Regions from separate parts of the Homo sapiens genome. Here all the other regions are linked to region 1. The links are contacts of gene promoters, found by promoter capture Hi-C in human tissues and cell types (Jung and others, 2019). All regions are on one chromosome and are shown on one strand. The core of a region is centred on a gene start or on the middle of the fragment in contact, and the rest is flanking DNA. Distances in the headings are between cores, read along the strand shown.

Region 1 (5,842 bases), core at 2,552-5,051:
TAGTAGGTGCTAAATCGTGGCTAACATTATTATTATCTTATTATCTCTATGTAAATTATAGTTGCTAGAAGTTGGGGGATATGGGCCCAAGGAAAATCAGTTTTTCGCTTCAGGGAGCTCACTGTTTCATGGGGAGGAGTGACAGATACATACGCCAATGGCTAGTCCCTGTATAAGGGACCATACCAAAAGTACCCATAACAGACTATTAAACAGAGAAGGAAGTCATTAGTTCTCAATGGGGATATCAGGAAAGTTCTCATGCAGAGACAACATTGCTCAAACTTTGAAGGATGAGGTAAGCAAGTATATTCAGGGAGGAATACAGGGGAAGAGGAGGAAGTTGTGTGCAAAAAGACACTGAATTGTTAAAACGCTGTCCTCAGATCACAGTAGAGACCCTGCCTTAATAAATATGCAGAGGATAAATGAAAGCATTATGAAAGATCTATCATAGCTTCAAAAGAATGTGTGGACTTCTCTTGATTTTTTCCCTTTCACTCTCTTTCTTTCTTTCTTTCTTCTTCTTTCTTTCTTTGACGGAGTTTCACTCTTGTCGCCCACGCTGGAGTGCAATGGCGTGATCTCGGTTCACTGCAACCTCTGCCTCCCGAGTTGAGGTGATTCTCTTACCTCAGCCTCCCGAGTAGCTGGGATTACAGGCATGCGCCACCACACCTAGCTAGTTTTTGTATTTTTAGGAGATAGGGGGTTTCACCATGTTGGCCAGGATGGTCTCATTCTCTTGACCTCGTGATCCGCCGGCCTCGGCCTCCCGAAGTGCTGGGATTACAGGCGTGAGCCACCGCCCCCAGCCGACTTCTCTTGTTTTAAGTGGCTCTTAATCATTTGGTGGTTTGCATATTCCAAAAAGCTTCTAAATATTTGTGTTGAACCAATGCTTTCATTCAAAAACAGAATGCTTCTTGGGCTGAATGGCACTATGTCATCCCAACAAGAAGAACATCGGAATCTAATTGTGTCATCCATGTTCTTATTTTAAAACAATCTACGGTAACACCCTTCCAGCCATGAAGCGTTCAGTCAGTTGAACAGATGTGATGTGTTCTCCCTGATGCATTAGCTTCAACCTCTGAGTTCATGAAATTGAGTTTCTTTCTGTAGCATGCTGTGTTCATTCATCAGCCTGAGTCATTTTATCTGATTGGGTCCAATCTCCCCCTCCTTGGCCCGCCTCCTTTTGCTGCTGAATAAATCATCCTGGGAGCTGTCCAGGTTGGAGAAAGATTTTCATAGGAAAGTTCCAACTGCATCCAGCCCCTCATTTATTCAGGCTGAGTCCTTAGGGCCCCAAGGAGAAAGAAGTGAGAAAATAAAGTGATGCCTTCCATTGCCAAGTTTGCTAATATGGTCATTAGCACAGATGCCTTCGGGCAATGCCCGCAGAGAGAGGACACAGCTACCCACACATTCTGGCATAGGGTCTATAGGACAGCCTTCCCAGCTGTGCTCCGTCTGGGTTCCCATCTCAAGTTAAGAGACTCATTACCCACCCGAGTTCCAGTAGGGTGAGGCTGATGAGTCCAAGAAATTCAGGAAGGAAGAAGCAAGAAGCATTTCTTTGACAGGAATGTAATTGCAGGGGTTATTTCATTAAGGGCTAGATAACTGTAACACAGAGTTGTTTGAGGTACTTTTACCCTTAACTTCCAGGCCCATGGGATAGGCCAACTATTCTGGGAGATCTTTAATGTTAACAGATTAATTCATCTACAAGCAGAGTTAAAAATAGAATCAGCCGTCTATCTATTTAAAGTTGAGCGTTTCATTTTGGCTTTCTTGGGGGATGGTAGAATACAACTTAAAAGGATTGAAATTAAAGAAGTCTTTTCCAGGGAGTGAACGAAATTCTAGAAATCTACTGGTTAGGGATTGGGGGGAATATTAGAGGATTCTTTTCTCTTCCTTCTGGAATTCTGTGTGCAAGGCAGGTGGCCCGTTTTGGGTTTAACCCGAAGCCGAAATGCGTGGGGAGAAAAACAGGAATTAAAAAGCAAAGAATTAAACCCCGCGTTTCTGGGACACGGCCGACAGAAATAACCCTGGAGACAGTGTATGTGGTTGGGGGTGGGGGTATCGAAATTATTTTTCCTTAGGACAGGCAGGAGGGAAGGGAGCTTCTCTTCTTGCTCAGGAGGGACTGAGGGGGCGGCAAGGCAAGGCGGTCATTTGGGCTTTCATGGGACGCCACGGGGAGCCGCGAACGCGCCCAGGGCCTGACGTCATTGGCCATCAGCTGACTGTGCTCTGGGCCCGGGCTCCACTGGCTGCAGCCGCAGTCTTGGTGGAGGAGGTGGTGACCACCACCGCTCCTCCACCTGCATCCGGCTGCGGGACTGCGGCGGCCGCGTTTGCCCTGCAGACCCTGCACCCCGGGACGCGGCTCATCTGTCATTAGCACCGGCACTAAGCTCCCACCGCTCAGCGACTTGGTCCGCCGCAAGCTCCGCCGCAGGCTTTGTCCGCTAGCGCTCGGCTGAGTCTGGGCGGGCGGGAAACCTGGGCTAGGGCGAGGCGGGGCCCCTGGACATGCCTTTCTCCACGTCCGCCTCCTCGACCCTATTGTAAGCGGAGAAACTTAGTGTGCGAGGCAGGCAGGGGACGTCCCCATTTTGATGTCCCGTACCCTCCACCCCCTTCGGATCGAGGTAGTAAAGAGGCTCCTGTAGGAAACTGACTGCCTCTATGATTGCGGCCTCTTGGGGGATTTTGCGTTTAGCCCGAAAGTTGGCTTTGCCAAAAGACGCACGGGTAGGAAGGGCGAAAAGGAAACCCTGTATTCCGTCGCGCTGGGCTCTCCGAGTCCGTGCGCAAAGCGGCCTACGAGTCCTGGCTCCGCACCTGCAGAGGACAAGAGCCAATGCCTAAAAAAGAACAGCGGAGGAACCGGCTGGCGCGGCCAGCTGGAACGCTGGATCGCAGTGCGCCCAGGGAAGGCCGGGGGCGCCCGCCGGCCCTAGCCCTCAGTGGTCCTCTCCCACGCCGGCCCGCGCGTGCCTCTGCCTACAAGACCTGGGGCGTCCTGGCCAGATCTGGATGGCAGGTCCCTCCGCCACCCCCGGCCCGGTTCCGGGGGCGTGGCTTGGCGCGGGGGCGGGTTTAAGTCACCGCGGGTGTCTGACCACTCTGACAGGTCTCCAAATTTCTCCCAGTCGCCTGGCGCCCGCGGTGCGTTTCAGAGCTCCAGGGTGGCACGCGGCGGCGCTTCCCTAGATCCAGAGGCGTCTCTGTCGACTTCCACGCGGCCTCGGGCCTCCCTTCTCCTCCAAACCTTCGCCTCATCCGCCAAGCTTCGGTTCTCAGCCTCAGATATCCGCACCGGCGGCTTCTCTTCGTTCTCGGAGCTCTTGGCTTTGGAGCCCTCACCACTTTTTCCTTCCCCCGCCTCTCCTGATCCTCCTAGCTCCGAGCCAAATGGACTCCAAAGAACGAAATAAAGGGGATGAGAACTGTGTGCTGCGACCCTTCGAAAGCACAGCTGAAAGCGTTGACCTCGTCTTATAGCTCAGGCTGGGACCCTGGAGCGAGAGTCCCCACACCCCCTCCGGGAGGGATGCTTCTGGCCAGAGCCAGCGCTGCGCTGTCAGTCCTTGCTCCCGAACTAGGAAAGAGCCTAGGAGGGAGCCTCAGCATACCCCTTCCTCCAAATTAACTATTTGGTGAATTGTTAGCGCCGAGGCTACCACCTCTCCAACCCTGTCGCGGGGCGCCCCGCCACCTCACCGTGACCCCCTCCTCCTCCTTCTTTGCCCCCGCCCCCAGCTCCGCCCCTGCTCCCCATCCCGGCGCAATGGAGTTCTCCGAAGGGCGATGATTCCAGCCACATCTGCTAACTTCGCACCCATCGCTGCCGCCGGTCACCGCCGGCCAGGCCCCCTGCAGCCGCGGAGCAGTGGGCGTCCAAAGCCCAGTGCAGCAGCCAGGACCCGCCCGACGCGCAGCAGAAGCACGGCGCCCAGGCGCTTAGGCGTCTCTTGGAGAGCAAAGGCTGCGCCAAAACGCTGAGCCTAGAATCAACCAAGGAGCCTGAGCCCAGGAAGGGGCTGCGTGGCTCACAGCGCTGCGGCTCCTGAGGACAAATAGCCACTGCCGCTGCGTACCCAAGCTGCGCCGGCTGGCGGGAGAGCAGCACGCAAGGACGCCGAGGTCCGCCGCGATCTTCCAGGTGCCCTTTGCCCCTGGGCACAGTATGACCCGACCTACAGGGAGCCCTAGCGCAGGGCTCCTGCAACGGGGCAGCCTAGGATAAAAAGGATCCTTGCCAAGCTCCTACCAGGCCGCCTTTGAGTCTTTAGGAACCCCTCCTCCGGCTGCCTCCCCAAGGTTCTGGGCCTCCTTCCCTGCGGCCCAGAGCCATGGAGCTCTCCGATGTGCGCTGCCTTACAGGCAGCGAGGAACTCTACACCATCCACCCGACGCCCCCGGCCGGCGACGGCAGGAGCGCCTCCCGGCCGCAGCGGCTGCTGTGGCAGACGGCGGTGCGACACATCACGGAGCAGCGCTTCATTCACGGGCACCGGGGAGGCAGCGGCAGCGGGAGTGGAGGCTCGGGCAAAGCCTCGGACCCTGCGGGCGGCGGCCCCAACCACCACGCGCCGCAGCTGTCAGGCGACTCGGCGCTGCCCCTCTACTCGCTGGGCCCGGGAGAGCGAGCGCACAGCACCTGCGGCACCAAAGTCTTCCCGGAACGCAGCGGGAGCGGCAGTGCCAGCGGCAGCGGAGGCGGGGGCGACCTGGGCTTCCTGCACCTTGACTGTGCCCCTAGCAACTCGGATTTCTTTCTTAATGGGGGCTATAGCTACCGAGGGGTCATTTTCCCCACCCTGCGCAACTCCTTCAAATCTCGGGATTTGGAACGCCTCTACCAGCGCTATTTCTTGGGCCAAAGGCGCAAATCGGAAGTGGTGATGAACGTGCTGGACGTGCTGACCAAACTCACTCTCTTGGTCCTACACTTGAGCCTGGCCTCGGCCCCCATGGACCCGCTCAAGGGCATCCTGCTGGGCTTCTTCACCGGCATTGAGGTAGTGATCTGCGCCCTGGTGGTGGTCAGGAAGGACACCACCTCCCACACGTACCTGCAGTACAGCGGCGTGGTCACCTGGGTGGCCATGACCACCCAGATCCTGGCAGCAGGCCTCGGCTACGGGCTCCTGGGCGACGGCATAGGCTACGTGCTCTTCACGCTCTTCGCCACCTACAGTATGCTGCCGCTGCCGCTCACCTGGGCCATCCTGGCCGGCCTGGGCACCTCGCTGCTGCAGGTCATCCTCCAAGTGGTCATACCCCGGCTGGCGGTCATTTCCATCAACCAGGTAACTCCTGCCTGCCTTGCATTTGTTTCCCCTCTAACTTCCCCGGGTTATTGATCATATAGCTTCCAGAGAGCCAGGGTTGCCTCACTCTCTTTAAGTCTCCGCCTTCAGTCTGGCACAGTGCCTTGTACCTAGGAGGTCTTGAGTGTTAGCGGAATGCAATCTCTTCTTAAAGTGGAACTAAATGACCTCTAAAAGTTTCTACCAACTCTACCCTTCTACTCTGATTCTATGAGTAATTCTACTCTGACATCAGCTAAGAAAGTCTGCTTTCTGCTCCTCATTCCCCTCCCTCAGGGTCTGCAGTCTCCGGAGCAGGAGACAGAAGGGGAGGAGAAGCATCCAGATTTAGAAGGTGACCCATTCCTTAACATCTCTCCTCAGGAGAGTCGCAGCAGGGTGTTGTAGCAGGCTCTGGGCTTCAGAGTTGGGTTTTTCCGTATCTCTAAGCCACAAACCCTCAGTTCTCAAAGGAACATACATTTGTTAAACACATACTGATTGTC
Region 2 (5,798 bases), core at 199-2,698, 860 kb before region 1:
CATGTATGAGGAGTTAAAAGTAATCTCTACATCAGGACTATGTAAAGATTTGCCACAGGAAAATCTTTAAATCTCAAAAAGATATTTAAATATCTTTAATATCAATTTAAATTTAATATCCTTAAATATCAGGAAAATATCAATCTTTATAATATCAAGAAATAACTCATCTTTTCCCACCACTAGACGAAACGTGCATTGGAGACTGACCTGGAAATTCAGCGTCCCAGATGGCTACAAAACAAGGACAACTAGAAGTAGTTATGAATTCTAGGAAATATATTCACAAGTGTGTAAAGATTCTATAGTATTGAACACTTAGTCAAAGGAGTCCTACTTGAATTCTCAAATCAATGACAAAGTTGCTTCCTCTCTACCCAAGATCAGGAGCTTCCCTAGTTTGCACATATCCACATTGACCAGTGGCTATAAAGTCACACTGCGATTATCTGGGTCATTTTAAAATAGGTCATTAGCAGTACTTGTAGTATCGCGTCTGTCTAAAAATCCTCCAACACCGAGTGACTTTTAAACTTTGGGGTGCCTTGGTAACCCCAGGGACGCTTATTAGACATGCAGACTCCGGGGCCCAAGCTCCAGACTAATTCCATGGGAATAGGGCGGGTCCCGAAACCGGCATTTTTAATCATCTGCCCGGGTGAATCCGAAGTGTGGTCCAAAAGCCACAGTCGAGGTGCCTCTGCCTAACAAGCTCCACAGAAAGCTCCGACTTCAGCCGCCCCGACGGCGATACGGACGCCGAGTTAGGCTGTCGGGGGTCTGTCTGGCGGCCGCGGGAAGGGACTCGGGGCCGGCGCGTCCACTAGCGACGTCCGGCCCGAGGTGAGAAGGGACTGACAATGGTACCGCAGTTATTTTCAATATTTCCATAAAGTCCCACGAAGCCGTGTGGCCGTGGGAAAAGGGCTTTAACTTTGAAATCCCACGGGTCAGGTTACCACCAGCTCTGCCGCCTCCTAACAGCGCGTCCCCGCAGTTCCCTTAACGTTCGGGCCTCAGTTTCCCGATCCGTGCAACGGGCTCACGCCATCTCCGGAAGGCTAAGCCGAAACGAAACTAACTCCGCCGCTCGCAGACACTTCCTGGCTCTGCTCAGCGCGGCCCAGCCTCCCCAGCCGCCCGGGAGGAGTACCCGGCCCAAGCGCGTCGCGCAGGCAGTCGCCTCCCAACGCCCCCGGCCCTCGGCCGGCCACTCACGGGTAGGCATGGCGATCTCGACCGCGCTCGCCGCCGCACCGAGGCTCAGCGGGGCCGCGCAGGGAGCGCCGACGGCACCATGACGGCCGTTGCTGGGCCGCGGAGGCCGGAACGAGGCGAAGGGCGAAGGGCGAAGGGTGGAGGGAGCGGACGCGGACCCCGCGGTCACGCAACCAAGCGGGCGACAGCTACCGCCGCCAGCCCACTCCTCGCCGGGCGGCGCGACGGACGACCCACGCCCGTTACGTCAGCGCGCCGCCGCCGTCCCGGCCCCGCCCCCGCGGATGGCCGGGCTCGGCCCAGGATCCCTTGTCGAGCGGGTGGAATGGGTGGCTGGGGACAGCCACGTAGAACAACTTCGGGTGCCTTCTATTTTCCAAGCCTGGTGACCTGCGTGGCATTCGTTTTCCTTGATCTCTATTTGGAGTGCATCACTTTACGTTTGTGAGGATGATGGCTTTGAGCGCACGGAGTACCTGTGGGCTTTTTCTTTTGCAATCGGTTTAACTTGCAGTGCGTTTTGCATACTCTGAAAGCATGGTTTATTTGAGATGCACTAAGGTCATTTGGGGTGATGGCTGCTCATTTTTTGAGAGGGCAGAAAATGTAATTTCCTTTTGCTCTTGTGACTTTCAGAGCGACCTTATCCCTCAGGAGTTAGTCTCCTCTGGAGAGGGCAGCTCTGTGCACTTGGCTGAGCTACTCTTCTTGACTCTGGGTGTCATTAATAATTGAGGTATCTAATAGTCACCAAGCTGAGCAGACACCGGGAGCCAGAGAGCTGAGCAACGCACCTACACTATGCTAGGCGCCGTGGGCTGCGGACAGCCCATATGGAGATATAAAAGCCAACCGCAGAGGTTTAACACAGCCTTCCTCAAAGTGGGTCAAAGTGGTCCAGGATCCTTTTGTGCTTGGATCCCCTGGGGACTTGTTGAAAAGCAGATTCCTAGGTGCTGAGCCAAATCTACGAACACATATACAGATGATTTAAATACAATGATAATACTGAGAACCTTTGTCCTAAAAAGTAGGGCTAACCTTCTGATTAAGAAATGATATTGTGCAGTACTGGGAGGAGAAGATGAAGAACATGAAGATCAGAGCTAGGAAGCGCTGAGGAGAAATTAGTCTTGGCTTGAGGTGGACTTGGAAGAAAGCAGAATTTGAATTAGCAAAGCCTAGGGGAGTCCTAAAAGAGGCTGGGGAGAGGATGAAGGGTAATTTAGAGTGAGTCATGGCAGCTGGGGAGAGGAGAGTGTGTACTGTACCTATAAAAGAGACTGTCCAGCTGGGAACGGTGGCTCACGCCTGTAATCCTAACACTTTGGGAGACCGAGGTGGGCGGTGGGCAGATCACCTGAGGTCAGGAGTTCGAGATCAGCCTGGCCAACATGGCGAAACCCTGTCTGTACTGAAAATGCAAAAATTAGGCGGGGGTGGTGGCACATGCCTATATTCTCACTCAGCTACTTGGGAAGCTGAGGAAGGAGAATCGCTTGAACCCAGGAGACGGAGTTTGCAGTGAGCCGAGATCGGGCCACTGGACTCTAGCCTGGGCTACAGAGCAAGACTCCATCTCAAAAAAAAAAAAAAAAAAAGAGAGACTGTCCCTTGCTAACAGTAAAGACCAAACTACCTAGTGCTTATTCATGTTTTAATGCCCTGTTGCATATTTTATCACCTATAAAATCTTTCATGCTTCCAGTTTTCTCCCTAAGACTTTGGCATTATCTTGATTCCTCTCTGCTACAGCACTTTTCTCACTGCATCCTAAATAAACTGTCATGAGTGCTTGTGTTTTACCATGGGCCTATTTGCTTTTCAGAAAATGGCAAAAGCCATATTCTGTTCATGTTTATGTATCCTTGGCTGGCACACAGGTGGGGGCCAGAGTATATTAATTCAATATATAAATAAAGGATTTTATTCAAGAGTATGAAAACAAAAACAGGTAAATAAAACTGATAAACAACTTTACATTCAACCTTGGAATTTGTCTTTTAAGAAACTGTTCTGTGATTTTTACAAAAAGCATAACAGTAACATTAAATTATCAGAAGCAGGGCCTTGCAGGGGGAATGGTGTGGCAGAGAAACTGTGGAGGTAGGCAGCCAAATCGGAAGGCCCCAATACAGGAGAGAGTGTTAGGTGCTCAGTCTTGGTGGTGGCTGTGGAAAAAGAAAGAACTGAATCTTACTTTGGAAAAGAATCCCTGGATTTGTTGGCTGCTGACTTGGGAGCAATAGAGAGGCATCTGTTAGTTATGTAACTCCAAGGTTGGAACAAGGAAAGTGGTGGTGCTGGAGAGCAGTAGACCAGTCAGGAAGAAATGCTGTTTTAGGGAAGGGGTGTGAAGAAAGGTGTGAGTTTCTCCTTGACATATTGAGCTTGAGGTGGTATCAGAGGGAGACATCCGAGTGAATGAATCTGAAGGCAGCTGGGCAAGCCAGGATGAAGGTGGGCTGAGGGACCTCAGGGTGGGAGATTTGGAAATCTTTGGTCCCGGGACAGGAGCTGAAGCTGGGTGTCAAAGAGAGCCCTTTTAGGGAAGATGTGGAGGCAGTGAAGGCACAGAGAGACGAGATCCACAGGATACAGTGCCCCAGGAGCCAAGGGAAGACATGACTCCAAAAGGCAGACATCTCTGCTTACATTACCTTGAAAAAGATGCAGATCCCAAAGGCCCTGAAATTGTCCTGCACATACTGGTTGTTTTTTTGTTTGTTTGTTTTTCATTTCTTTCTGTTTTTAATCCTCTTGGTCTTTTGGTTTTGTATTGTTGCCAGAAATAAAAATCAGCAGCCAAAGATTCTGAGGAAGGACAGCTGAATGTCAGGAAAAATAGTGTCATAATGTTTTGATTATATATACAGTACCTACGTGGTTTTTTTTTTTTCCCTAGTTTGTGCACATTGGTAGCAATGTTACCATACTCTTTCCCTAACCTATCCTCTGGATCCGAGTTCTGCCGGTGTATCCACCACAGCCAGCCCCCGCTTCCTTTTTGATTTTTTTTTTTTTTTTTGAGACAGAGTTTCACTCTGTCGCCTAGGCTGGAGTGCAGTGGTGCAATCTCACCTCACTGCAGCCTCCACCTCCTGGGTTCAAACAATTCTCCTAACTCAGCCTCCCAAGTAACTGGAACTACAGGTGCATGCCACCACGCCTGGCTAATTTTTGTAATTTTAGTAGAGACGGGGTTTTGTCATGTTGGCCAGGCTGGTCTCAAACTCCCAGCCTCAAGTGATCTGCCTGTCTCGGCCTCTCAAAGTGCTGGGATGACAGGTGTGAGCCACCACGCCCGGCCCCCTACCCCCTACTTCTGAGAGCAGAGAGTCTGCCGTCATCTTTGGTACTTGGTCTTACCCCTCTTGGTGTATCCCCTTTTGCAAACACCCTTCCCCTTTCTATCCCCTCTGTGTCAGTGCTCCTCTCTTGGAGCCCAGTCTGGGCTGACAGGAACGAGGATTTAGCCATCTCTCTTGGTGCCCACACTGCCCAGCTCTTGTCCTGGACACTATGTGTGGTAGACATGGAGACGAGTCACCAGATCCCTTTAAGAGAAGACACACTGCCTTGGCATTTGAGCCACTTTAGTGTTTGAGCTTGGTATTTGAGGTGATGCTTTTGTCAGGGTGCAGGGCAGGCAGAGTGCCCTTTCTAACATGCAAATCTAATGATACCTCTGATATGGTTTGGATATTTGTTCCCTCCAAATCTCATATTGAAATTTGATCCCCCACATTGGAGGTGGGGCCTAGGTGGAAGGTGTTTGGGTGATGGGGGTGGATCCCTTATGAACAATTTGGTGCCTTCCTTAAGGTAATGAATAAGTTCTCTGTTGGTTCCTGCAGTATCTGATTGCTAAAAATTGTCTGGCACCTCCTTTCCCTCTCTCATGCCATGTGATGCCTCCTCCCTTCCCCTTCCACCATGAGTAGAAACTCCCTGAAACCCTCACCAGAAGCAGACACTGGCACCATGCTTCTTATACAGTCTGCAGAACTGTGGGCCAAATAAAGTTCTTTTCTTTATAAATTACCCAGCCTCAGGTATTCCTTTATAGGAATGGAAATGGACTATGACCTCTCACCTGCTAACACTTGTCTATGGCTCAGTAGAGTGTTCAGTCTACAGTTCAAAGCCCTTAGCTTAGCACAGGAAGCCTTTCAAGGCCTGACATTGAGAGCTCTTCAGTTCCCCTACATTGCAACTTACGCTTTGCTTCCCCTGGTCCTAATGAGTGCACAGTTCTCAGAAACCACTCTGCTGTAGCACTCTTCCATTCTTTTGCCCATGCTCTTTGCCCTGCTGGAATGGGCTTTTCTGTCCCCTGCTCTAGCTAACTTCCAAAGTCCTTGTGAGTGTTTGGTGTAATTAAGTATGCCCTATGACCTGGAGATCATCCTTCTGGGAATATATCCTGGAAAATTTCTCACCAGGGTCCACAAGGAAGATGGATAAAAAGGTTAATTGACGTGTTGTTCATGGCAATGCGGAGTTGGAGGCCACCTAGGCGTTTGTCACTTGCAGAACATGGTGGATTCATACGTACTGTGGATGCACATCAGCAACAT
Region 3 (5,941 bases), core at 383-2,882, 780 kb before region 1:
GTTCTTGTATAAGAATTCTGACTGCACAGCCCTGCACTTCGGCTGTGGGTAATGAAAAGAGTTGGGATGAGTCAGGGAGAGCTAGGATGGGGCAGTCTCTAAAGCTGTCTTCAAGGAATGGAAAGAGGAGTGGGGAAAGGATTTAGGATCCATGGGGTCAGCTAGGTTTCCTTTTGTGAGTTTATATAATGGTTTTGTTAGGATGGCAAAACCAGGTATCTAAAGGTGAAAGTATCTAACTATGCCTAGGAAGGAAAGGAGTTGTTGTTTTGTAGAAGGTGTTGGGGTTTGAGAGATCTGCTGGACATGATCGGCAGGGAGAGCACGTGTGTTTTTATGAGAATTATGCCAAGATAGGTAACAGATGAGGAAGAAATTTGGGCTTGACTGAAGTAATAGGGGCTGTCTGTGAAGCTTTGTGGCAGTACAGCCCAGGTAATTTGCTGGGCCTGATGGGTGTCAGGGTCAGTCCAAGTGAAAGCGAAGAGAGGCTGGGATGACGGGTGTAAAGGAATAGTAAAGAAAACATGTTTGAGATCTAGAACAGAATAAAGGGTTGTGGAGGGAGGTATCGAGGATAGGAGAGTATATGGGTTTGGCACCACGGTGTGGATAGGCAAAACAATTTGGTTGATAAGGTGCAGATCCTAAACTAATCTGTAAGACTTGTCCGGTTTTTGGACAGGTAAAATGGGGGAATTCGAAGGAGAGTTTATAGGTTTTAGAAGCCCATGCTCTAGGAGGCAAGTGATAACAGGCTTTAATCCTTTTAAAGCATGCTGTGGGATGGGATATTGGCATTGAGCGGGGTAAGGGTGATTAGGTTTTAATGAGATGGTAAGGGGTGCATCATTGTCACCAAGAAGGGAGTAGAGGTATCCGATACTTGTGGGTTAAGGTGGGGGGATACAAGAGGAGGATGCAAAGGAGGCTTTGGATTGGGAAGAAGGGTGGCAATGAGATGTGGCTGTAGTCCAGGAATAGTCAGGGAAGCAGATAATTTAGTTAAAGTGTCTCCGCCTAATAAGGGAACTGGGCTGATAATTAAAAAGGAGTGATAATTAAAAAGGAGTGCTTAAAAGAGTGTTGTCTAAGTTGGCACCAGAGTTGGAGAGTTTTAAGAGGTTTAGAAGCCTGGCTGTCAATACGTACAACAGTTATAGAGGCAATGGAAACAGGCCCTTGAAAGGAAGGTAATGTGGAGTGGGTAGCCTCCGTATTGATTAAGAAGAGGACAGACTTACCTTCCACTGTGAGAGTTACCCAGATCATCTGTGATGGTCCTGTAGGCTTTCGAGGTGATCAGGCAGTGTCAGTCTTCAGCTGCTAAGCCAAGAAGGTCTGGGAAGGAGTCAGTCAGAGCCTGGGGCCAGAGTTCTAGGGGCTCTGGGAGTGGCTGCCAGGTGAGTTGGACAGTCCGATTTTCAGTGGGGTCCAACGCAGTTGGGATACAGCTTAGGAGGAATCCCAGGCTGTGGGCATTCCTTGGCCCAGTGGCCAGATTTCTGGCACTTGTAGCAAGCTCCTGGGGGAGGAGGTTCTGGAGGAACCCCTGGCAGCTGTGGTTCAGGCTTTTGGAGTTCTTGTGTGCTGGAGACGTGGCTGGGGTTTGTCTCAATGGAGGCAAAGAATTGCAACTCAGAAATACATTGCTACTTGGCTGCCTCTACTCTATTATTGTACACCTTGAAGGCAAGGTTCATTAAGTCCTGTTGTGGGGTTTGAGGGCCAGAATTTAATTTTTGGAGCTTTATTTCATGTCGGGAGCAGATTGGGTAATAAAATAAAATGCATATTGAGAATAAGACGGCCTTCTGACCTTTCAGGGTCTAGGGCTGTAAAGCATCTCAGTGTTGCTGCCAAACGAGCCATGAACTGGGCTGGATTTTTGTATTTGATGAAAAAGAGCCTAAACGCTATCTGATTTAGGATAAAGAAAAAGGAGCATTAACCTTGACTATGCCTTTAGCTCCAGCCACCTTTTTAAGAGGAAATTGCTGGGCAGGTGGGGGAGGGCTAGTCAGGGAACAAAACTGTAAGCCAGACCAAGTGTGAGGAGGGGAGGTGATAAAAGGACTATAGGGTGGAGGAGCAGAGGCTGAGGAAGAATCGGGACCTAGCTCAGCCTGGCAAGGAGGGGAGAGGTCAGATGGGTCTGTAGAAAAGGAAGATTAGAAAGACTCAGCGACGCTTGGGGTTGGGACTGAGGGGACAGGCGGGAGGGAAAGATGGAAGATTTGGGACTAGTTGCATTGGGAACAGAGACTAGGGAGGGACCAATGTGTAAAAGAATGCCTGGATGTCAGGCACCTCAGACCACTTGCCCATTTTACGACAAGAATTATTTAGATCTTGTAGGATGGAAAAATTGAAAATGCCATTTTCTGGCTATTTGGAACTACTGTCGAGTTTGTATTGGGGTCAAGCGGCATTGTAGAAGAAAATAAGGCATTTAGGTTTTAGGTCAGGTGTGAGTTGAAGAGGTTTTATGTTTTTAAGAACACAAGCTAAGGGAGAAGAAGGGGGAATGGAGGTCGGAAGCTTGCCCATAGTGTAAAGGAAAATTACAGTCAAAGGGAGTTGTTCTCTGGTGGGCAGGTGTTGGGTCACAAGGTGCTCAGCAGGGGAGCTTTTGAGCCAGGATGAGCCAGGAGAAGGAATTTCACAAGATAATGTCATAAGTTAAGGCAGGAACAGGCCATTTTCATTTCTTTTGTGGTGGAATGTCATCAGTTAAGGCAGGAACTGGCCATCTGGATGTGTATGTGCAGGTCACAGGAGATATGATGGCTTAGCTTGGGCTCAGAGGCCTAACAGTAACTACTTTTGTTCATCCACTTATTCATTTATTCAATCACAAACATTTATTGACAATACTTTGTGTTCTGTTTGGAACCATGCGAGGAATAGGGGTTATTGGGTCTGATGCAGTGTGTCTCTACCTTAACACTATTGACATTTAGGCTGGATAACTCTTTGCTGTGAGGAGCTAGTCTGTGAATTGAAGGGTGTTTGGCAGCATCTCTGGTCTCTACTTACTGGGTGCTAGAAGCAGCACCTAGTCGTCTCAACCAAAAATATCTTTGACATCACTGAATATCTCCTGGGGGTCAAAATTGCCCCCAGTTGAGGATCACAGATCTAATGTATAAAACATTGCTTCTGACATCAACATTAAACAGAAGTCAGTAAAACTGATAACCACAACAACAATTAAAATGGATGAAACACCTCCATTTGGTCAGGTTTTTGCCAGGTACACAATCTTATTCAATGCTTACAACAACTGTATGCTATAAGAGTAAATATTTATTTATGGATCTCTAAAGGTTTATAATGGGTAAGTCTATATTTCCATATGTGTTAATTATAACCTTCTAAAAGCAAGAATCAATATTTAAAATGTTTGAAGGGGAATGAGGGCACCTACATTTTAAGTGATAGCACAAGCTAAAATTAAAAGCCTAGTTTTAAAGAAGTGTTAGATTATTTTATATAGTAGAAATGATAAAGCAAAAAACTCTCGTATGATAATACGTGGCTAAGGTTTTTCCTTTTTTGTGCTTTAGTTTATATTGGCTACATTTTTCACTGTATGCATTGTGTGTTTCTTTTTAATAGTTTTTTTTCTGAACACACATTTATGTTAATGTTTTTATTGAATAACACTTACATTGTACCTTTCTTATCACTGATACAATAAACATAACAGGATTTTGGGGGACTTCAGAACAGTAATTAATACTTGAGTTTCAGAGTACAAAGTCACCTTAGTAGGCATCAAATCCAAACTACCCAGTTTATGGATGAAAAATACAAAGCTAACATTGGGGAATTGAATTGCTCTAGGTTAGAGGGTTTGCAAACTATGGCCTATGAGCCAAATTTGGCTTGTCACTTGTTTTTGCAAATAAAGTTTTATTGGAATACAACAAAGCTCATTTGTTTACATATTATCCATGGCTGCTTTCAAAGTACAACAGAGTAGATTAGTTGCAACAGAAACTATATGTCCTTCAAAGCCTAAAATATTCACTATCTGTCCCTTTACAGAAAATGTTTGTCTAGGTCATATCAAAAACTAGGGCTGGTGGAGGACTTTGAGTTGATGTGTCTCTTACTGGACAGCAGCATGGTGGAGCAGAAAATCCCTGGGCTCTAGAATCAGACAAGGTTTTGAATCTTGTCTCTGTCATCCACAAGCTGTGTGGCCTTGAACATGATCCCTTTGAGTCTCATTTCCTATTGAGTAAAATTGGGATGAACACAGTCTGCAATTTTGTTATGTGGTTTATAAAAAGTTGATAATGTCTCTGATGTGTACTCAAAATAGATGATATTAAAATACAATGCCCTTTCAACTGAATAACTGCAGCTTTTACTCATTTACTCAATAAATATTTAGCAAAAGACCATTGAAGGTACCTTAATAGGGACTGAGGGTACAAGAAAGGTAATGACAGACATGGCCTCTAAATTTCATTTCAGCCAAGTAGAGAGTAGGTATGAGAGGGACCTAACCCAGACCTTACTCAGACATGGTTTACTGAAGGAGAGTACATTTAATTCAAGACCTTAAGCAAGCATAGGAATTAACAAGTAGAAGAAGATGGAAGTCGGGTAAGGAATGTTTCAGGCAAAGGAAAGGACAAGAGTAAAAGTCCTAAGATTAGTAAGTCATTGTACACTGAAAGAACTACAGAAAAAAAGGTCAGTAAAGTTTGCGTGGGAGTTCAATGTTGGGAGAAAGTGGGGAGAGATATGGTTGGGAAGGTGAACATGATGCAGATTCTAAAAGGCCAATGGAGCACGTAGCGTTAGTTGCCTACCCAACAGTCACAACCCCCTTTCTCAATAACAAAATCATGATTTTGTACACCTGGCAAAATGCCCACCTTAGGGAAGGCAGCAGATGTATCAGTGATTGGTCTGAGGTGAGCTAGTGATTGGGATATGGCCAATGGAAGAATTTTGAGGTCTTTAAAAAAAAGTTTTCCAATCCAAAAATAGGAGAGTCAGGTAAGGTGGCTCATGCCTGTAATCCCAGCACTTTGGGAGGCTGAGGCAGGTGGATCACCTGAGGTCAGGAGTTGAAGACTAGCCTGGCCAACATGGTGAAACCCCATCTCTACAAAAATTAGCCTCCCTGATGGCAGGTGCCTATAATCCCAGCTACTCGGGAGGTTGAGGAGGGAGAATCACTTGAACCCGGGAGGCGGAGGTTGCAGTGAGCCGAGATTGCACCACTGCACTTCAGCCTGGGCGATACAGCAAGACTCTGTCTCAAAAACTTAAAACAAAAAACAAAAACAAAAACAAAACCCAACAACAACGACCAAAAATAAAAATAGGAGAAAGCACTTTTCCTCCCTTTTCTCTCCGCTTTGGCTGCAGTCAAGTGAGACTGTGATGCCTGGAACTGTTGTAGCCTTTTGCCCTCATAATGAAAGTGAACAGGCTGAAGATAGAGAGAAGAAATGCATACAGATAGAATTCCAGGGATGATTTGTTGAGTTCCATGTTGTCATTCCAGGGCTAACTGTGGCTGTACACACCAGTGAACTTCCTATTACAGAAAGTAGGGCAAGATCAAAAAGGGCTCAAGTGCCAGGGTCAAGTGACATCCAAGAGGAAAAGCAAATGTAACAAAAGCTTTAGTCGCTAGTATCATCTCTCCTGCCGATGACAGAGTACCAAATGGATTAGATGATTAAATGGACTAGATGATGATTAATGGATTAACTGCAAATAACTGAGCTCCAAGTGACCCTTTGTAAGAAATAGCTAGCCTTCAGTGGAGGCCTCAATTTCCTCATCTGTAAAACAGGGGTGATAACAGAACCATCTAAATGGCTTGCTGTAACGATAAAATAGTATATAGATTTGGAGCCCCAGCATGGAGCCTAGTTCCTAGGAAGTGTTCACAATGGTAGGTGAAGAT
Region 4 (5,493 bases), core at 100-2,599, 830 kb before region 1:
GTCATCTGAGGGCTCACGGGACTGGATGTCAGGACTGCTCACTCCATGGCTGACAGTTGATACTGGCTGTCATCTGGGACCTCCACTGGGGCTGACACAGGGCATCTACTTTTGGGGAAGCATAATTTAAAACAAATTTATTTTCCCAACACAGAAAATCTGTCCACAAAAGTAGTAGATAAATAAAAGTTTTATTATTGAATAAACATTAAACCAGAATACAATGCACATCACAGGCAGTCCACTAAGACACTGCAAAGACGGAAAAAACATCTCACCCTTTTATATAGCCAAGCAAATATCACCCATTGCATGCTTGTTTTCAAGATAAACAATAACTAGCCATCAAGTAAGACGACTTGACAGTACCATATGTCATATTTAGTTCATCCTGACTTTACCTGGTAATCGGGCGACCATTTGTGGTAGCTAACTTCTTATATCTCTGTAATAGGAGGTGTTTTGCAACTTGGATCAAGATACCCACCAAAGTTAGATTACTATTCTCTCACAGAAATTGGGAGGTAGGGGTGCTGTCTCCCTTGATGTTCCATTTCAAAGAGATGGCTCCCAGTCCCTAGAGGAAGGTATTACTGGATCATACTGCTGAGAAAAGGCCTACCTAGTCTTTAAAACAATTTATCTAGAAAAAAGGACTTATCCCCTCAAAGAAGGAGAAAGTATTTAAAATGACAGGTTTTTCCAAAGGAAATGCTATGAAAAGATGGGGAGGGAAATTTATTCCCTTATTTTCAATAGGGAGAATTAAGCCTCTTACTTTTAATTTGCATTTGTCCTGACATTATACATAGTTTCTCCATGTGGCTTGTTTCTCTTTTTCATTAGTTTTATTTTATTTTAATTGATGCATAATAATTCTATGTATTTATAGAGTACAATGTGATGTTTTGATAAATGTATCAATTGTGGAATGATTACATCAAGTAAATTAGCATGCCCATCACCTCAAATATTTATCATTTCTTTGTGGTGAGAACATTTAAATCCTCTCTTTTAGCTATTTTGAATTATACATTATTACTATAGTCACCATGCTGTGTAGTGAAACACTAGAATTTATTCCTCCTTTTGATCTGAAACTTTGTACTAGTTGAGTAACTTCTCCTTTCTCCCTGTTCACCTCACTTTCCCAGCTTTTGATATCAAAAAGAGGAAAGATAACAAGTGATGTAGAGAAAAGGGAATCCTTGTAGGATGTTGATGATATTACAAATTAGTACAGCTATTTTGGAAAACAGTATGTAGGTTCCTCAAAAAACTAAAACTAAAACTACCACATGATCCAGCAATCCCATTTCTGGGTCTCTACCCAAAGGGATTGAAATCTGTGTGTTGAAAATATTTCTGCATCCATGTTCATTGCAGCATTATTCACAATAGTCAAGATATGGAAACAACGTAAGTGTCCATCAATGGACGAGTGATTTTTTAAATGTAATATGTATGCACAATAGCATACTATTCAGCCTTTAAAATGAGAAATTATGTCCTTTTTAACAACATAGATGAACCTAGAGGACATTACACTAGTGAAATAAGCCAGGCACAGAGAGACAAATATCTTTTATGATCACACTTACATATGGAATCTAAAAAATTCCAACTCCTAGGAGGAGGGAGTGGGATGGTGGCTTGAGTTTCTGACAGCATGGCAGCTGGGTTCCAAATGAGAGCTTCCAAAGAGCCGTCATTTCAAGGAGCACAGGCGGAAGCTTAAGATTACCTATGACTCAGTCACGAAAGGCACAGCATCACTGCACTACATTCAGCTGTGAGTGCATCCCAGGGCCAACCCAGATTCAAGAGGAGGGTTCAGCACAAGGTTGCGGATACTGGGAGGTAAGGCTCACAGAGGGCCATCTTTGGAGATCAGTTATCATACCCTTCTAGTATCCTTGAGCAGAAAAGAAATGTATTACAGTAACAAGTAACTTAGGAACTCCCAAGGAAATCAAAAGAATCAGGTTTGAAAGCTTCATTTTCAAGAATTATTCCCTAAAACACAATGCAAGGCTGATACAGTAGACCTCATTGATGTCAAGCCTGGACATGGACACAGGATGCTAGCCTCTGTACGCTTGAACCTCTGCTACTTCACTCCCAGACCTCTGGGAAAAGGAATTCTATGTCCTGGTGGCTGCCTCCCATTGTTCACTTTTGAATAGACATCTTGAACCAGTGCGTCTATTGGTAGAACCTATTGGTGGACTCACATAGCCAAGTATTCACTAAGAATAGTTTGCGAAAATGAGATTCTGATTTGTTCCTTGGGCTGATGGTGTTTACGTAAGGTGTTTGCCCAGTTACCCACATCAGATTCTTGGGAATCTTCAATCCCTATCTTCTGTTGCCACATCCAGTCTTATGATCAAATCATATCAACTCTATTGAAAATAAAAGCTTTGATGTAGTCATAAAAATAAAACATAAAATTAAATAAATAAAATAAAATAAATCTCTGGAAATCATCCATCTTTCTCATCCCAACTTCAAAAATCTTTATGCCTACATAGATGAAATGAAACTACTAAGACGGTAGAATTTGATTTTTAATTTTTTTCATAATTTGCTAATTTGTTCTATTTTTTCAACAACTAAAAGTAGAAAAAAGCTATTTGCCTTCTCGTGGGTCTATTTAATTTACTGAACTTTAGAAAACCCTTCTTTGCTTCAACCCCATTGGTTGAAAAAGGGATGTAGGTCACATGTCCTCTGAAATTCTTTCCCACTGTATCAATGAGAGGATTTATTTATTTTTTAATACCAAAGAAGATGGGAAAAAAAATGTCTGCATTCCTATAGACTGGAGTGATCTTGAGCTCTTGCACACAGATTTAGTGTGTTGACCAAGCACCTAATCCCTTTTCACAGAGATTGCAACTGCATGCCCTTCCACTCCACCATCTGAGACCAGGCCTTTCTTGTGCCTTGCAGTAAATCAGTATTGTCAGAATTTCTGATTATCATAACCTCCCAAAGTAGAAGCTCATTATTCTCTTCCCATTCCAGGCTTAACAAAGTTGGGTCTAATTAAAACCTTACAGGACTCTCCGTATTAGGGATTTTTAAAAAATTTTTTATTATTATTTTTTATTTTATTATTATTATACTTTAAGTTTTAGGGTACATGTGCACAATGTGCAGGTTAGTTACATATGTATACATGTGCCATGCTGGTGTGCTGCACCCATTAACTCGTCATTTAGCATTAGGTATATCTCCTAATGCTATCCCTCCCCCCTCCCCCCACCCCACAACAGTCCCCAGAATGTGATGTTCCCCTTCCTGTGTCCGTGTGTTCTCATCGTTCAATTTCCACCTATGAGTGAGAACATGCAGTGTTTGGTTTTTTTGTCCTTGTGATAGTTTGCTGAGAATGATGGTTTCCAATTTCATCCATGTCCCTACAAAGGACATGAACTCATCCTTTTTTATGGCTGCATAGTATTCCATGGTGTATATGTGCCACATTTTCTTAATCCAGTCTATCATTGTTGGACATTTGGGTTGGTTCCAAGTCTTTGCTATTGTGAATAGTGCCACAATAAACATACGTGTGCATGTGTCTTTATAGCAGCATGATTTATAGTCTTTTGGGTATATACTCAGTAATGGGATGGCTGGGTCAAATGGTATTTCTAGTTCTAGATCCCTGAGGAATCACCACACTGACTTCCACAGTGGTAGAACTAGCTTACAGTCCCACCAACAGTGTAAAAGTGTTCCTATTTCTCCACATCCTCTCCAGCACCTGTTGTTTCCTGACTTTTTAATGATTGCCATTCTAACTGGTGTGAGATGGTATCTCATTGTGGTTTTGATTTGCATTTCTCTGATGGCCAGTGATGGTGAGCATTTTTTCATGTGTTTTTTGGCTGCATAAATGTCTTCTTTTGAGAAGTGTCTGTTCATGTCCTTCGCCCACTTGTTGATGGGGTTGTTTGTTTTTTTCTTGTAAATTTGTTTGAGTTCATTGTAGATTCTGGATATTAGCCCTTTGTCAGATGAGTAGGTTGCGAAAATTTTCTCCCATTTTGTAGGTTGCCTGTTCACTCTGATGGTAGTTTCTTTTGCTGTGCAGAAGCTCTTTAGTTTAATTAGATCCCATTTGTCAATTTTGGCTTTTGTTGCCATTGCTTTTGGTGTTTTAGACGTGAAGTCCTTGCCCATGCCTATGTCCTGAATGGTAATGCCTAGGTTTTCTTCTAGGGTTTTTATGGTTTTAGGTCTAACGTTTAAGTCTTTAATCCATCTTGAATTGATTTTTGTATAAGGTGTAAGGAAGGGATCCAGTTTCAGCTTTCTACATATGGCTAGCCAGTTTTCCCAGCACCATTTATTAAATAGGGAATCCTTTCCCCATTGCTTGTTTTTCTCAGGTTTGTCAAAGATCAGATAGTTGTAGATATGTGGTGTTATTTCTGAGGGCTCTGTTCTGTTCCATTGATCTATATCTGTGTTTTGGTACCAGTAGCATGCTGTTTTGGTTACTGTAGCCTTGTAGTATAGTTTGAAGTCAGGTAGCATGATACCTCCAGCTTTGTTCTTTTGGCTTAGGATTGACTTGGCGATGCAGGCTCTTTTTTGGTTCCATATGAACTTTAAAGTAGTTTTTTCCAATTCTGTGAAGAAAGTCATTGGTAGCTTGATGGGGATGGCATTGAATCTACAAATTACCTTGGGCAGTATGGCCATTTTCACGATATTGATTCTTCCTACCCATGAGCATGGAATGTTCTTCCATTTCTTTGTATCCTCTTTTATTTCATTGAGCAGTGGTTTGTAGTTCTCCTTGAAGAGGTCCTTCATGTCCCTTGTAAGTTGGATTCCTAGGTATTTTATTCTCTTTGAAGCAATTGTGAATGGGAGTTCATAAGTAGATTTTAGCTGCTCTTGTCACACAAAAAGAACTATGTGAGATGATAGATATGTTAATCAGCTTCATTATTGTCATCATTTTACTATCTTTATGTATCCCATAACATCATTTTGGAAACCTCAAATATATACAGTAAAATTCTTTTAAAAAATCCTTACAGGAAATAAAGGAAGGCTTTAGCAATTTTTGTTTTTTCTTGCTTGTTACTGTTTTCCTTCTTGCAGTTTTTAGTACATATTACAGCTTTTTTTGTATTCTTCAAAATACAGCTTGCATATTTTATAAGATCTGGTTAGACTATTAAAAAGATGTTGAAAATCTTTTACTGCCCTAGTGTACTGCAAAAAGTTAGACAACAAAATATCTTTCAATGATTCACTGAAAGTCACTGAACTCAATGGGAGCATCTTTGTAGAGTACAAAGGCCTAAGGGCATCTTTGTCATCAACATGTTCTCTCCTATATGGGAATAATAAGGAAGAAAACAACAACAATAAGGGTAGAACTCCAGAGCATTTTTACTCTTAAGAATACCTCAAAGGATACTCTTGAAGACGCGTCTCCAAGCCATGCACAAAAATATTTTTAGGCTG

What was found. Contacts are between HindIII fragments. The study calls those that stand out against the background at their distance.
Region 2: the fragment with the promoter of EFR3A here is called in contact with the fragment with the promoter of ADCY8 in region 1 in 2 of the 25 tissues and cell types used here (mesendoderm cells and thymus).
Region 3: a contact is called between a fragment that was not itself captured here and the fragment with the promoter of ADCY8 in region 1, in 1 of the 25 tissues and cell types used here (dorsolateral prefrontal cortex).
Region 4: a contact is called between a fragment that was not itself captured here and the fragment with the promoter of ADCY8 in region 1, in 2 of the 25 tissues and cell types used here (H1 embryonic stem cells and dorsolateral prefrontal cortex).

Annotation. Positions count from the first base shown.
Region 1 is chr8:131,038,868-131,044,709 of GRCh38, reverse strand. ADCY8 (adenylate cyclase 8) reads left to right here and starts at 3,801. Exons shown (of 18, transcript NM_001115.3): 1 at 3,801-5,336. The coding sequence starts at 4,377. It overlaps LOC105375760 (a long non-coding RNA gene), which reads right to left and starts at 5,180. Exons shown (of 6, transcript XR_928653.3): 1 at 5,100-5,180. RefSeq lists enhancers at 3,523-4,061, 4,062-4,601. The HindIII fragment of the contact is 7,762 bases long and covers 1-4,876 here.
Region 2 is chr8:131,899,743-131,905,540 of GRCh38, reverse strand. EFR3A (EFR3 homolog A) reads right to left here and starts at 1,448. Exons shown (of 23, transcript NM_015137.6): 1 at 1,219-1,448. The coding sequence starts at 1,228. RefSeq lists an enhancer at 452-501 and a silencer at 1,072-1,551. The HindIII fragment of the contact is 11,078 bases long and covers 1-5,798 here.
Region 3 is chr8:131,817,030-131,822,970 of GRCh38, reverse strand. No RefSeq gene overlaps it. Among named protein-coding and RNA genes, the nearest start is that of EFR3A, 84 kb to the left of the region's middle. RefSeq lists an enhancer at 2,401-2,902. The HindIII fragment of the contact is 4,930 bases long and covers 1-4,097 here.
Region 4 is chr8:131,870,617-131,876,109 of GRCh38, reverse strand. All of the region lies in intron 2 of LOC107986976 (a long non-coding RNA gene), which reads left to right. Among named protein-coding and RNA genes, the nearest start is that of EFR3A, 31 kb to the left of the region's middle. The HindIII fragment of the contact is 6,814 bases long and covers 1-4,756 here.